Regions from separate parts of the Homo sapiens genome. Here region 1 is linked to region 2. Evidence: promoter capture Hi-C in 16 types of primary human blood cells and fetal thymus (Javierre and others, 2016). All regions are on one chromosome and are shown on one strand. The core of a region is centred on a gene start or on the middle of the fragment in contact, and the rest is flanking DNA. Distances in the headings are between cores, read along the strand shown. Region 1 has its middle 10 kb from the start of LINC01220. Region 2 holds the start of DLST (dihydrolipoamide S-succinyltransferase).

Region 1 (5,674 bases), core at 839-3,338, 420 kb after region 2:
CCATGCCTGTCTTCTCTCAGTTCCTTGAGTAAGCATGTTCCTCTCTGTTGCGTGACCTTTGTACATTCTGTCCCCTCCCCCGCCACCCCCCGCACAGGAACTCTACTCTTTCCTGGCTAACTCCCACACATCCTTCAGATCTCTAGCTTAAAGCTCACTTCCTGGTCAGGCCTGGTGGCTCATGCCTGTAATCCCAGCACTTTGGAGGCCGAGACAGGAGGGTCATTTGAGCTCAGGAGTTCAAGACCAGCCTGGGCAACACAGTGAGACCTCATCTCTACAAAAGATAAACAAAATTATCCAGGCGTGGTGGTGCATACCTGTGGTCCCAGCTAGCTGGGAGGCTGAGGTGGGAGGATCGCTTGAGGCTTGGAGGTGGAGGCTGCAATGAGTCATGATGGCACCACTTTACTCCAGCCTGGATGACAAAGTGACACCTCAACTCTGAAAACAAAACAAAACAAAAAGATGACTTCTTCTGAGGATTTCTCTGAACATTCCATATAAAGCAGCCCCTCATCCCCACTCCCTTTCCCTTTACTCTGTCATGGCCCTCTCTCTGAACCTGCAGAGCAAGGACAAGGTTTGTAGTTATGTGTGATTATGGGATTACACACACTTGGTGTCCCCACTAGGCTGAAAGCTCCATGAGGGCAGGAACAGGGTCTGATTTTTGCTCACAATTGTATCCCTGATGCCCAGCACACAGTAAGCAATCAATAAGCATTTATTGAAATGGAAAAAGCCTATGCCTTTTTTTTTTTTTTTTGAGACGGAGTCTTGCTTTGTCCCCCAGGCTGGAGTGCAGTGGTGCCATCTCGGCTCACTGCAACCTCCACTTCCCTGGTTCAAGTGATTCTCCTGCCTCAGCCTCCTGAGTAGCTGGTATTACAAGTGCGTGCTACCACATCTGGCTAATTTTTGTATTTTTCGTAGAGATGGGGTTTCACCATGTTGCCCAGGCTGGTCTCGAACTTCTGACCACAAGTGATCTGCCTGTCTCGGCCTCCCAAAGTGCTGAGATTACAGTCGTGAACCACTGCGCCCGGCCAAGCCTATGCATTTATGACCAATGAAATGCTTTTACACCCTCTCCTGTGGCTCCAATTCCATCTTGATTGATGTTGGTTGCTTGGTCGAAGGAACAGGACATTTGGGGGCTTCAAGGGAGGCCTTAGCCAGCTCCTTTCCTACCCTCTTTTCCTTTGAGGAAGAAGCTTCCCTTTCTATGACTAGACACTTTCAACCAGTACTTCTCAAATTTTAATGTGTCTATAAATTACCCCGGGGATCTTCTTTTTTTTATTTTTATTTTTTATTTTGAGACCAAGTCTCACTCTGTCGCCCAGGCTGGAGTGCAGTGGCGTGATCTCGGCTCACTGCCACCTCCGCCTCCCGGGTTCAAGCCATTCTCCTGCCTCAGCCTCCCAAGTATCTGGGAGTACAGGCACTCACCAGCACGTCCGGCTAATTTTTGTGTTTTTAGTAGAGACGAGGTTTCACCATGTTGGCCAGGCTGTGTGTCGAACTCCTGACCAGCAGGAATTCCTGATCCACCCGCCTTGGCCTCCCAAAGTGCTGGGATTACAGACCTGAGCCTCTGTGCCTGTCCTTCGACCGGGGATCTTCTTAACGTGCAAATTCTGAGGCAGATCTGGGGTAGGATCGAGATTCTGCGTCTCTAACAATCTCCCAGGTGAAGTCCATAATGCTAATTCCAGGACCAAGGCTTTCACATTTCGGCATCTGTGATCTACAGGCCACTGGGATTTCCACGCTTTAGGTTGAGTCGCTGCGCCCCCTCTTGACCACTAAAGGATATGACAATCTTCGACCGAGGGGATAAAGACACCGTGCATGAATTGTAAAACACATCACACTCTTGGGGAATAGGATCTTCTCTAAAAGCAAATGGGCATACGGATTCCGATAGCATTAGTACATTTATTCTTCATTTTAATTTAATTTTATTTTTTGTAGAGACAGGGTTTTGCCATGTTGCCCAGACTGGTCTCGAATTCCTGAGCTCAGGCCACCCACTCGCCTCTGCCTCCCAAAGTGCTGGGATTACAGGCATGAGCCACCGCGCCCGGCCTGCAGAGTGTATTCTTAAGAATAAATTGGGGTGGGTGTCGTGGCTTACGCCTATAATCCCAACACTTTGGGAGTCCGAGGCGGGCGGATCACGAGGTCAGGAGTTCAAGACCAGCCTGGCCAACATGGTGAAACCCTGTCTCTACTAAAAATACAAAAATTAACCGGGTGTAGTGGCGGGTGCCTGTAATTCCAGCTACTCGAGAGGCTGAGGCAGGAGAACCACTTGAACTTGGGAGTCGGAGGTTGCAGTGAGCCGAGATGGTGCCATTGCACTCCAGCCTGGGTGACGAAGCAACACTGTCTCAAAAAAGAAGAAGAAAAAAAAAAGAATAAATTTTCTGATCGGGCCTGGTGGCTGCGACTATAAGTGTGTGCCACCATGCCTGCCTAATTTTTGTATTTTTTTGTACAGACATGGTTTCGTACAAAACCTTGTCTCCAGCTCCTGGGCTAAACACTCTGCCTTCCTCGGCTTCCCAAAGTGCTGGGATTACAGGTGTGAGCCACTGTGACCAGGCCTCCTTTTTTTTTTTTCTTCCTATTTTTTATATATGGTGGTAAAATACACACAACATTTGCCATCTTAACCATTTTTAAGTGTCCAGGTCAGTGGTATTAAATACATTCACAATGTCGTGCAGCTGTCACCACCATCCCACCATCTGTCTGTCTCTAGAACTCTGTCTCCTAAAACTGAAACCCTGTACCCATTAAACAGTAATTTCTTATTCTTCCCTCTCCCCAGCCCCTGGCATCCACCATTTTACTTTCTGTTGCTATGATTTTAAGGGACTTTATATAAGTGGAATCATACAGTGGGTATCCTTTTCTGACTGGCTTGTATCACGTAGTATAATGGCCTCAAGCTTCATTCAGGCTGCAGTATGTGTTGGAATGTCTTTCCTTTTTAAGGCTGAATAATATTCCATTATACATATACACCACGTTTTGCTTATCCATTCATCATTGATGGACATTTGGGTTGCTTCTACATTTTAGCTATTATGAATAATGCTGCTATGAACATGGGTGTACAAATATCTCTTTGAGATCAGCTTTCAGTTTTTGGGGGTATATACGCAGGGTAGAATTTTGGGGTCATATGGTAATTTTATTTTTAATTTTAAAAGAAACCCCCACACTGTTTTCCACAGCAGCTGTGCCATTTTACATTCTCACCAACAGTGCATAGAGTTCCAATTTCTCTACATCCTTGACAAAGTTTGTAATTTTTTCTCTCTCTCTGTGTGTGTGTGTGTGTGTGTGTGTGTGTGTGTGTGTATTTTTTTTAGAGAGTCTTGCTCTGTTGCCCAGGCTGGAGTGCAGTGGTATGCTCATGGCTCACTGTAGCCTTGATCTCCTGGGCTCAAGCGATGCTCCCACTTCAGCCTCCCGAGTAGCTGGGACTATAGGCATGGACCACCACACCTGGCTAATTTTAATGTAATGTAATTTAATTTTTTTTTTTGTAGAGATGGGGTCTCACTATGTTGCTTTGGCTGGTCTCAAACTCCTGGGCTCAAGCAATCCTCTTGCCTCAGCCTTGCAAAGTGTTGGGATTACAGGCATGAGCTACTGCACCTAGCCTGTGTGTGTGAGTGTGGTGTTTTCGTTTTTTGTTTTTGAGACGGAGTTTTGCTCTCGTTGCCCAGGCTAGAGTGCAATGGCGTGATCTCAGCTCACTGCAACCTCTGCCTCCTGGGTTCAAGCAATTCTCCTGCCTCAGCCTCCTGAGTAGCTGGGATTGCAGGCATACACCACCACGCCCAGCTAATCTTGTATTTTTAGTAGAGATGGGGTTTCTCCATGTTGGTCAGGCTGGTCTCGAACTCCCAACCTCAGGTGATCCACCCACCTTGGCCTCCCAAAGTGCTGGGATTACAGGCGTGAGCCACTGTGCATGGTCTTGTGTGTTTTTTTTTAATAGTAGCCATCCTAATGGGTGTGAGGTGGTATCTCACTGTAGTTTTGATTTCCATTTCCCTAATGTCTAGTGATGTCGAACATCTTTTGTGCTTATTTATTAGCCATTTATATATCTTCTTTGGAGAAATGTCTATTCAAGTCCTTTGGCCATTTTTGAACTGGGTTGTTTGCTTTTTTGTTGTTGAGTTTTAGGAGTTCTTTATATATTCTGGATATTAATCCTTTATCAGCTATATGATTTGCAAATGTTTTATCTCATCTTGTGGGTTGCTTTTTCACTCTGTTGCTAGTGTCTTTTCTTGCACAAAATTTAAAAATTTTCATGAAGTCTAATTTGTCTATTTTTTCTTTTATTGCTTATGCAATAAAAGTGTCATATCCAGAAAAATCATTGCCAAATCTAATGTTGTGAAGCTTATCTCCTGTGTTTCCTTCGGTGAGTTTTACAGCTTTAGGCCTTACATTTGGGTCTTTGATGCATTTTGAGTTAATCTTTGCATATGGTGTTAGGCAAGTGTCCAACTTCATTTACACGTGGATATCCAGTTTTCCCAGCACCATTTGTTGAAAAGACTGTCCTTTCCCCATTGAATGGTCTTGGCACTTTTGTCAAAAATCACTTGATAATAGTCAAGTTAATTAATAATTATATTGATTAACAATTAATATAATTATAAAATTATATTTTATGACTACATTGGTATAAAGAAAAATATATTAATATTATATATTAAAACTTTTTTTCAGGCTGGGCATGGTGGCTCACGCCTATAATCCCAACACTTTGGGATGCCAAGGCGGGTGGATCACCTAAGGTCAGGAGTTTGAGACCAGACTGGCCAACATGGTGAAACCCTGTCTCTACTAAAAATACAAAAAATTAGCCGGGCGTGGTGGCGGGCGCCTATAATCCCAGCTCCTCAGAAGGCTGAGGCATGAGAATCGCTTGAACTTGGGAGGAGGAGGCTGCAGTGAGCCGAGGACATCACACCACTGCACTCCAGCCTGGGGGATAGAGGGAGACTCTTACTCCAAAACAAAACAAAAAAAATAAAACTTTTTTTCAATGTAAAAGTTAATTTTTTTCTTCTGATTTTCAAAAGAAATGAAAACATGTTTATGTATTCCTAAACATATCCTGGGTCTCGGGCATGATACCTCCTGTGTGAGCCCTGCTCTCCACACGGTGGCAGGGTTCTGTCTCTTTATGATGTGTGCAAGATGACACTAGATGCTATGAGGACCATCTGTTTTTTAAGCAGGTAACCACACTGAACATGTTAAACAATATGTATCATGTGCTGAGTGTTTACTGTGTGCCAAGTGCTTCAAACTCATCATTTAAGTTAAAGAACAGCCCTGTCAGATAGGAACTACTCTCTGCCCTCCATGGCCAGCATATACAAAGAGGTATATTTTTCCAAATGCTTCCATACATTGTTTCTAAATGTATATTACAGTCCATAGTATGAGGGACACCAGGGGACCCTCCAGTGGGCGCTACAAGATCTTAGGGAAGAGGGAAGCTGAGGGTGGGCTTTGGAGAAGAGTCATTACAGAGATGAAGTGGCAGGTGGCATGGAAAGGTATTTGGGAAGTGCGGAGGTGACAATAAGAACGGCACATTGGAGCGTCATGAGGAGACTTCCCA
Region 2 (6,368 bases), core at 3,141-5,640:
TCATTGTGTATTCATCAGTCCATTATTTTGAATTACAACTGAATGAAGAGATAGACAGATAGATGGAATCTAGGTATCATAGGTAACACTGAGTGAATATAGGGCATAGTCCCTATTTTAAGGAGCCCAAAGATGGAAGCATAGGCTATAGCCCCATCTACTAGCTGGCCGATAATATTCATAAACTCATAGGCAAGGATGTGAATGTATGGTTCAGAACACACATAAGAAAACCGGGGGATTTGAGGTAAATGAGCTACTTAATCCTTTCTAAAAACACACCTTTTTTCTTATTTAATTTGAAAGTAAATACATCTTTCATTTTCATTTTTTATTTTTTTCTATATCAGACCACTGCTGGAGACATCTTTTTCTTAATTTAAAAACACAGGCAAAAATGTGTATAGAACATAAGCATATTGAAGCTATAATGAAAACAAGGGGATGGTTAATATATAATTCAGTATAGTAGTGGCTAACTGGGTGTGATGATGGAGGAGACCACAGGGAACTTTTCCATTCCTTCAGCTGGGCAGCAAGTATGGGAATTCCTTTTATTATTTTTCTTTTAAACTGGACACATAGATTTTTATATCCTTTTTAATACGTATTTTACAATGAAAATGTTTTTAAAAATTATCTTTTGGGCCGGGTACAGTGGATCACGCCTGTAAGCCCAACACTTTGGGAGGCCAAGGTGGAGGGGTCACTACGTCAAGAGATCGAGACCATCCTGGCCGACATGGTGAAACCCTGTCTCTATTAAAAATACAGAAATTAGCCGGGCATGGTGGTGGGCGCCTGTAGTCCCAGCTACTCATGAGGCTGAGGCAGGAGAATCGCTTGAACCCAGGAGGCAGAGGTTGCAGTGAGCCAAGATCATGCCACTGCACTCCAGCCTGGCAACAGAGTGAGATTCCACTCAAAAAAAAAAAAAAAATTCTCTTTTGAGCCCTGCCACAATTTATATTCATAAACTCTTGCCCCAGTAGATGGTGCTGTGTCTTGGGAAGCTCTAAATGAAGGAGTGCCCTAGCTTATTGGGTTGCAGCTTGGAGTCCATGGAAGCTCGTATGTGAATCTCGAGGAAATCAATTTCAACTTTTACCCTCTCAATGGGATTTTGTATGAAACCATGCTCGAGTGTGTGTGTGTGTGTGTGTGTGTGTGTGTGTGTGGTGTCTTTAGACTGTAATATCTAAGATTAACTTGGGTGATCACTAAAACTCCAGAAGTGCTTTGCCACATTATAACCAGGCTTGAAGTCTTGAAGCCTCTACATCTTTTTTTTTTTGAGACGGAGTCTAGCTCTGTCACCCAGGCTGGAGTGCAGTGACATGATCTCAGCTCACTGCAAGCTCTACCTCCCGGGTTCACGCCATTCTCCTGCCTCAGCCTCCCTAGTAGCTGGGACTACAGGCACCCGCCACCAGGCCCGGCTAATTTTTTGTATTTTTAGTAGAGACGGGGTTTCACCGTGTTAACCAGGATGGTCTTGATCTCTTGACCTCGTGATCCGCCTGCCTCAGCCTCCTAAAATGCTGGGATTACAGGCGTGAGCCACCGTGCCCAGCCTGAAGCCTCTACACCTTCTATAAGAATCTCAAAAATTGTTAAAGACTGTGAAAGCCTGTAATCCCAGCACTTTGGGAGGCCAAGGCAGGCGGATCATGAGGTCAAGATTTTGAGACCATCCTGGCCAACACCCTGTCTCTACTAAAAATACAGTGACACCCTGTCTGACACCCCGTCTCTACTAAAAATACAGAAATTAGCTGGGCATGGTGGCACGCACCTGCAGTCCCAGCTACTCGGGAGGCTGGGGCAGGAGAATCACTTGAACCCGAGTGGCAGAGGTTGCAGTGAGCCAAGATGAGATCATGCCACTGCACTCCAGCCTGGGCAGCTGAGCAAGACTCTATCTCAAAAAAAAAAAAAAAAAAAAAAAAAAAAAAAGACCGTGAAAGGACTGGGTAGCTATCTAAGAAAAATATTAACAGCAACACTGGCAAGAAATTGCCATAGCCCCTGACTACCGTTCTTGGATTCTTCAGCTGTGTCCACCAATGTTGTAAACATGGAAGTATTTAGTCATTCCACAAATATTTATTGAGTACCTACAGAGTCCCAGGAACTCTGATGTCCCAGGTGTTGTGTTTGGAAAATTCAGGAAAATAGAGAGTGGTCTCTTTCCACCTGCTGCTCTATGCAGCATGGGAGACAGACAGGTAAACAGGACATTACAATAAAATGCAATGTAGAAACCCAGACACAGTGCTTTGGAAGCATAGAAAATGTATCTGTTAACTCTGCCAGAGGGGTTAGGAAGGGATTAAGAAGGAGATTTAAAGGATGACTAGGAGTTCCTAGGCAAATAGGAGGAGGAAACAGCCCATGCAAATAGCTCAGCAAGGCTATGGCCAGTAGTGTGGTTTGACTAAAGCTCACAATCTGTGAGAATGTGGGGAGAGAATCAGAACATAATCAGAGGCCTGATTATCAGGTGCCTGGCCAAGTTGAGGAGTTTGTACTTTATCCTACAAGGGAGATAAACTTTATCTCCCTTGCTTTATCCGACCAGGAGAAGCAATGAAAGACTTTAATCAGAGGAGTGACAGGATTAGGTTTGCATTTCAGAAGGATTTCTTTTTTTTCTTTACTTTCTTTTTTTTTTTTTTTTTGAGACGAAGTCTCACTCTGTTGCTCAGGCTGGAGTGCAGTGGTGCAATCTTGGCTCACTGCAACCTCCATCTCCTGGGTTCAAGCAATTCTCTTGCCTCAGCCTCCCGAGTAGCTGGGATTACAGGCATTCACTACCACACCCAGCTAATTTCTGTATTTTTAGTAGAGATGGGGTTTCACCATGTTGGCCAGGCTGGTCTTGAACTCCTGATCTCAAGTGATCCACCCACCTCATCCTCCCAAAGTGATGGGATTACAGGCGTGAGCTACCACACCAGGCTCAGAAGGATCTTTGACACAGATATAAAGGATGATGGGCTAGAGAAAGCGAGAGCGGAGGCTTAGAACTGCTTAGGGAGCTTTTCAAATAATTCAGGTGAAAGCTACTGAGGAGTTAATTGTGGGTAGCAGCAGGGCAGAGCTGTTTTCTCTATTTCTAGTTAGGACTTTGGCCCATCCTTCCAGAATTTCAGTGGCAGTGCTTTCAGGGTTCAGGTGAGTGAAGGCACTGTAAAGGTCCTGATGGAATTTGAGGCCAGCCTGGGCAACATAGTGAGACCCCGTCTCAATTTATATTAAAACATAAATTAATTAGAAAAATAAAAAATAAAGGTCCTGAGGGCCAGGCAAAATGCCTCAGATAAAGAAATCATCATGAACGGCACCAAGTGGTTCATTCATTCATTCATACATTTATGTGTTACTAATTCAGCCAGAGGTTTAAAGCACATCTTTTTCATTAGGAAGGTGAGCCTTAAAGGTGAATACTCAAGGGGCCTGAATACTTAAGGAGGGGAAGGGGATGCTATATGCTTTCACTTCAAGTCAGCGGGAAGAATGGCACACTCAAAGTGGGGAGGTCAGCCTGGCATGGTGGCACCTGTAGTCCCAGCTACTCCAGAGGCTGAGGCAGAGGGATCGCTTGAGCCCAGAGTGTCGAGGCTCCAGTGAACTATGACCTTGTTTCTTAAAAAAACAGCTGGGAGTTTATATTCTAGGGATAGGGTGACAAACGAACAACTTCCAAAATGCACAAGATGTATGGGGAACAATTAGTTTGGCTGGAATTTGCGTTGGGGGGAGATCAGAAGCTGTTGAGAAATAAGGCTATAGTTGGTGAAGATATCCGACTCGTAAAAAGGCAATGGGATTTAGAAATTCCTGGGATTCTGTTTCTTTGACTCGGGGTTAGGAAGACAGGGAAGTAACAAGTGCCTTTTTTTTTTTTTTTAATAGTTAAGGGACCTGAGACTGGGGGTGGGGGGCAATGTCATCTGCCCCAGGCCACACAAGTGTAAGATCAGGCATGCATGTCTGCCAAGGTTTCAGTTCAATGTCCGTGCCCCTCTTTTGCTCTCTTCCCAAGGTACAGAGGCGGAACGGCGCGGTGCCCTCGGGTCCCAAGAGAGAAGGGCGCCAAGCTCAGAGCCAGTTCTGTGGAAGGGTAGGGGAAGGCCTGACCCCGGGGGCAATGTGGTGGCGGGACAGTCGTATACACCTTCAGGAGAACCACCTCAGGCTGACAGGCAGTGCGGAGGGCCCCAAGAGCGCCTTAGGGTTGCCTGCTCCAGAGAGCGGGACTCCTGCGCTGCAGCCGGGATACTGGGCGCCGCCGTGCGCCCACCCCCTGCCAGTGGTTCGCTCCGAACACCCCTCGTCGGGCGGCGGGTACTGCGGCCCGCCCCACTTCCGGTTGTTGTCCGGCCCTATATCCGGTGTCCGCCCGCCCTCGGCTCCTCCGCCGTGATGCTGTCCCGATCCCGCTGTGTGTCTCGGGCGTTCAGCCGCTCGCTCTCCGCCTTCCAGAAGGTACGGTCTGGCCGAGCCGGGGCCCCGACGGGTGAGGAGTCTGTTGGCGGGCAGAGAGGCGGCCTGGAAGGCAGGGGCGCGGCGCGCCGGCCGGGCCGGGCACCAAGGGCACTGGGACGCGGAGGCCGCGCGGGCTGGGCGGCCCGGGGCCGTGGTTGCCCTCGGGACCGTTTTGCGGAGCCCAGCGGCCCCCTGCCTTCTCCAGGCAGCCTGCGGGGAACGTTTCCTGCTGTACCCCACCCTCCGCGCGGGAGCTGGGGAGCCGCGCCCGTCCAGATACTTGACTCAGAGTTAGGGAGGAGGCGCGGCGGAGTCCTCCGGCGGGATTCGGCGCCCGTCTCGTCTTGCTCTGTTAAAATCAGTGGGTATTAATGAGTCCCGTTGGGAAGTTGAGATAGTTTGGCAGGCCCAGCGTGTTGATTGGGTCTGCCAGCACGGTGTGTTGCATTTACCTTCGGAGTTACGAGATTCACCTGTCACCACCACTGGGACAGCTTTGAGCGTGTACTTAAAAGAAAAAGCTGGGTTTTTTTTTCATCTTGGGTGACGTCGATAATGTCTTCTTTCTCAACAGGGGAACTGCCCTCTAGGGAGACGTTCCCTGCCTGGTAAGTTCTGCCCTTACCGTCACCTAAAATGCTCTCCTCCTGGGCAGAGCAGTATGTGAGGAACTCGGGGGTGCCTGTGTTTCTCATAATATTTAAAGACAGTTTGGTTCAGAGAGTAGTGAGACGCAATGCTACATAATCACGAGCTATCGCTTATTCATTTAGCTCGTAGTTGAGTTTCTACTGTGTTAGGCACTGTGCTAGACGCTAGGGATACAGGAGTGGATACAGAAGTGTACAGTTCTTGCCCTCGTGGAGCTCCTAGGCTAGTTGGATAGTGTCAGTTGCTAAACAAGCCAACAAAGGCAAATTTTTGTAACTGCTGAGAAGGAAACGAGGGTGGACAGAAGAGCCCTTTTTGAGGAGGTGACTTAAAAGTTATGGCCATGGCCGGGCGCGGTGGCTGACGCCTGTAATCCCAGCACTCTGGGAGGCTGAGGCGGGCGGATCACGAGGTCAGGAGATCGAGACCATCCTGGTTAACACGGTGAAACCCCATCTCTACTAAAAAATACAAAAAATTAGCCGGGCGTGGTGGCAGGCGCCTGTAGTCCCAGCTCCTCGGGAGGCTGAGGCACGAGAATGGCGTGAAGCCGGGAGGCGGAGCTTGCAGTGAGCCGAGTTCGCGCCACTGCACTCCAGCCTGGGCGACAGAGCGAGACTCCATCTCAAAAAAAAAAAAAAAAAAAAGTTATGGCTAGCAGAATGTGACGGAGCTAACCCAGTGAAGCCCAGGAGAAAGAGAATGGCATTCACAAAGACCCTGAGGAAGAAAAGAGGTTGGCAGAACTTAAGAGCTGGAAAAAAGGTGATTTGGCCGGAGTATTTTGGTTAAGGGAGAGAGTGGCAAGAGATAGAAGATGGTATAGAGACTGAAGGAGTTTAGATTTTATCCTAGCAGTTAAAAAGAAAAAAGTGTCATCCATAGCTTTTTTTCTGTTATATGCCTAGCCTAAGTATTTGTTGAATGAGTTGACCTTGTTGTGGGCTTTCTTTGTGCCAAGCATTTATATGAGTGCTTTCTGTGAATTTTTTAGTTAATCATCTCAAAACAGTAAAAAGTATTTTCTCTATTTTACAAATGCATAACCCAAGACAAGAGAGCTTAAAAGCCTTGGCCATGGTCACCCACCCAGCTGTTGATAAGCCAGGTCTACCTGACCCATCCTGAACTCTTAACCCACCATGTTCTCATTTACTCATGGACTCAACAGATCATTTATTGAGTGCTTACTATATGCCAGCCACTGTTCTAGGTAACAGGGGTAT

The links. The method cuts DNA at HindIII sites, captures the fragments that hold promoters and counts their contacts. A CHiCAGO score of 5 or more calls a contact.
Region 1: a contact is called between a fragment that was not itself captured here and the fragment with the promoter of DLST in region 2, in 2 of 17 cell types (erythroblasts and endothelial precursors). The highest score is 7.7, in erythroblasts.

What each region holds. Positions count from the first base shown.
Region 1 is chr14:75,301,900-75,307,573 of GRCh38, forward strand. No RefSeq gene overlaps it. Among named protein-coding and RNA genes, the nearest start is that of LINC01220, 10 kb to the left of the region's middle. RefSeq lists an enhancer at 2,320-2,489. The HindIII fragment of the contact is 1,746 bases long and covers 1,216-2,961 here.
Region 2 is chr14:74,877,526-74,883,893 of GRCh38, forward strand. It overlaps DLST (dihydrolipoamide S-succinyltransferase), which reads left to right and starts at 4,391. Exons shown (of 15, transcript NM_001933.5): 1 at 4,391-4,491; 2 at 5,066-5,099. The coding sequence starts at 4,429. RefSeq lists silencers at 4,323-4,549, 4,406-4,735. The HindIII fragment of the contact is 10,796 bases long and covers 1-6,368 here.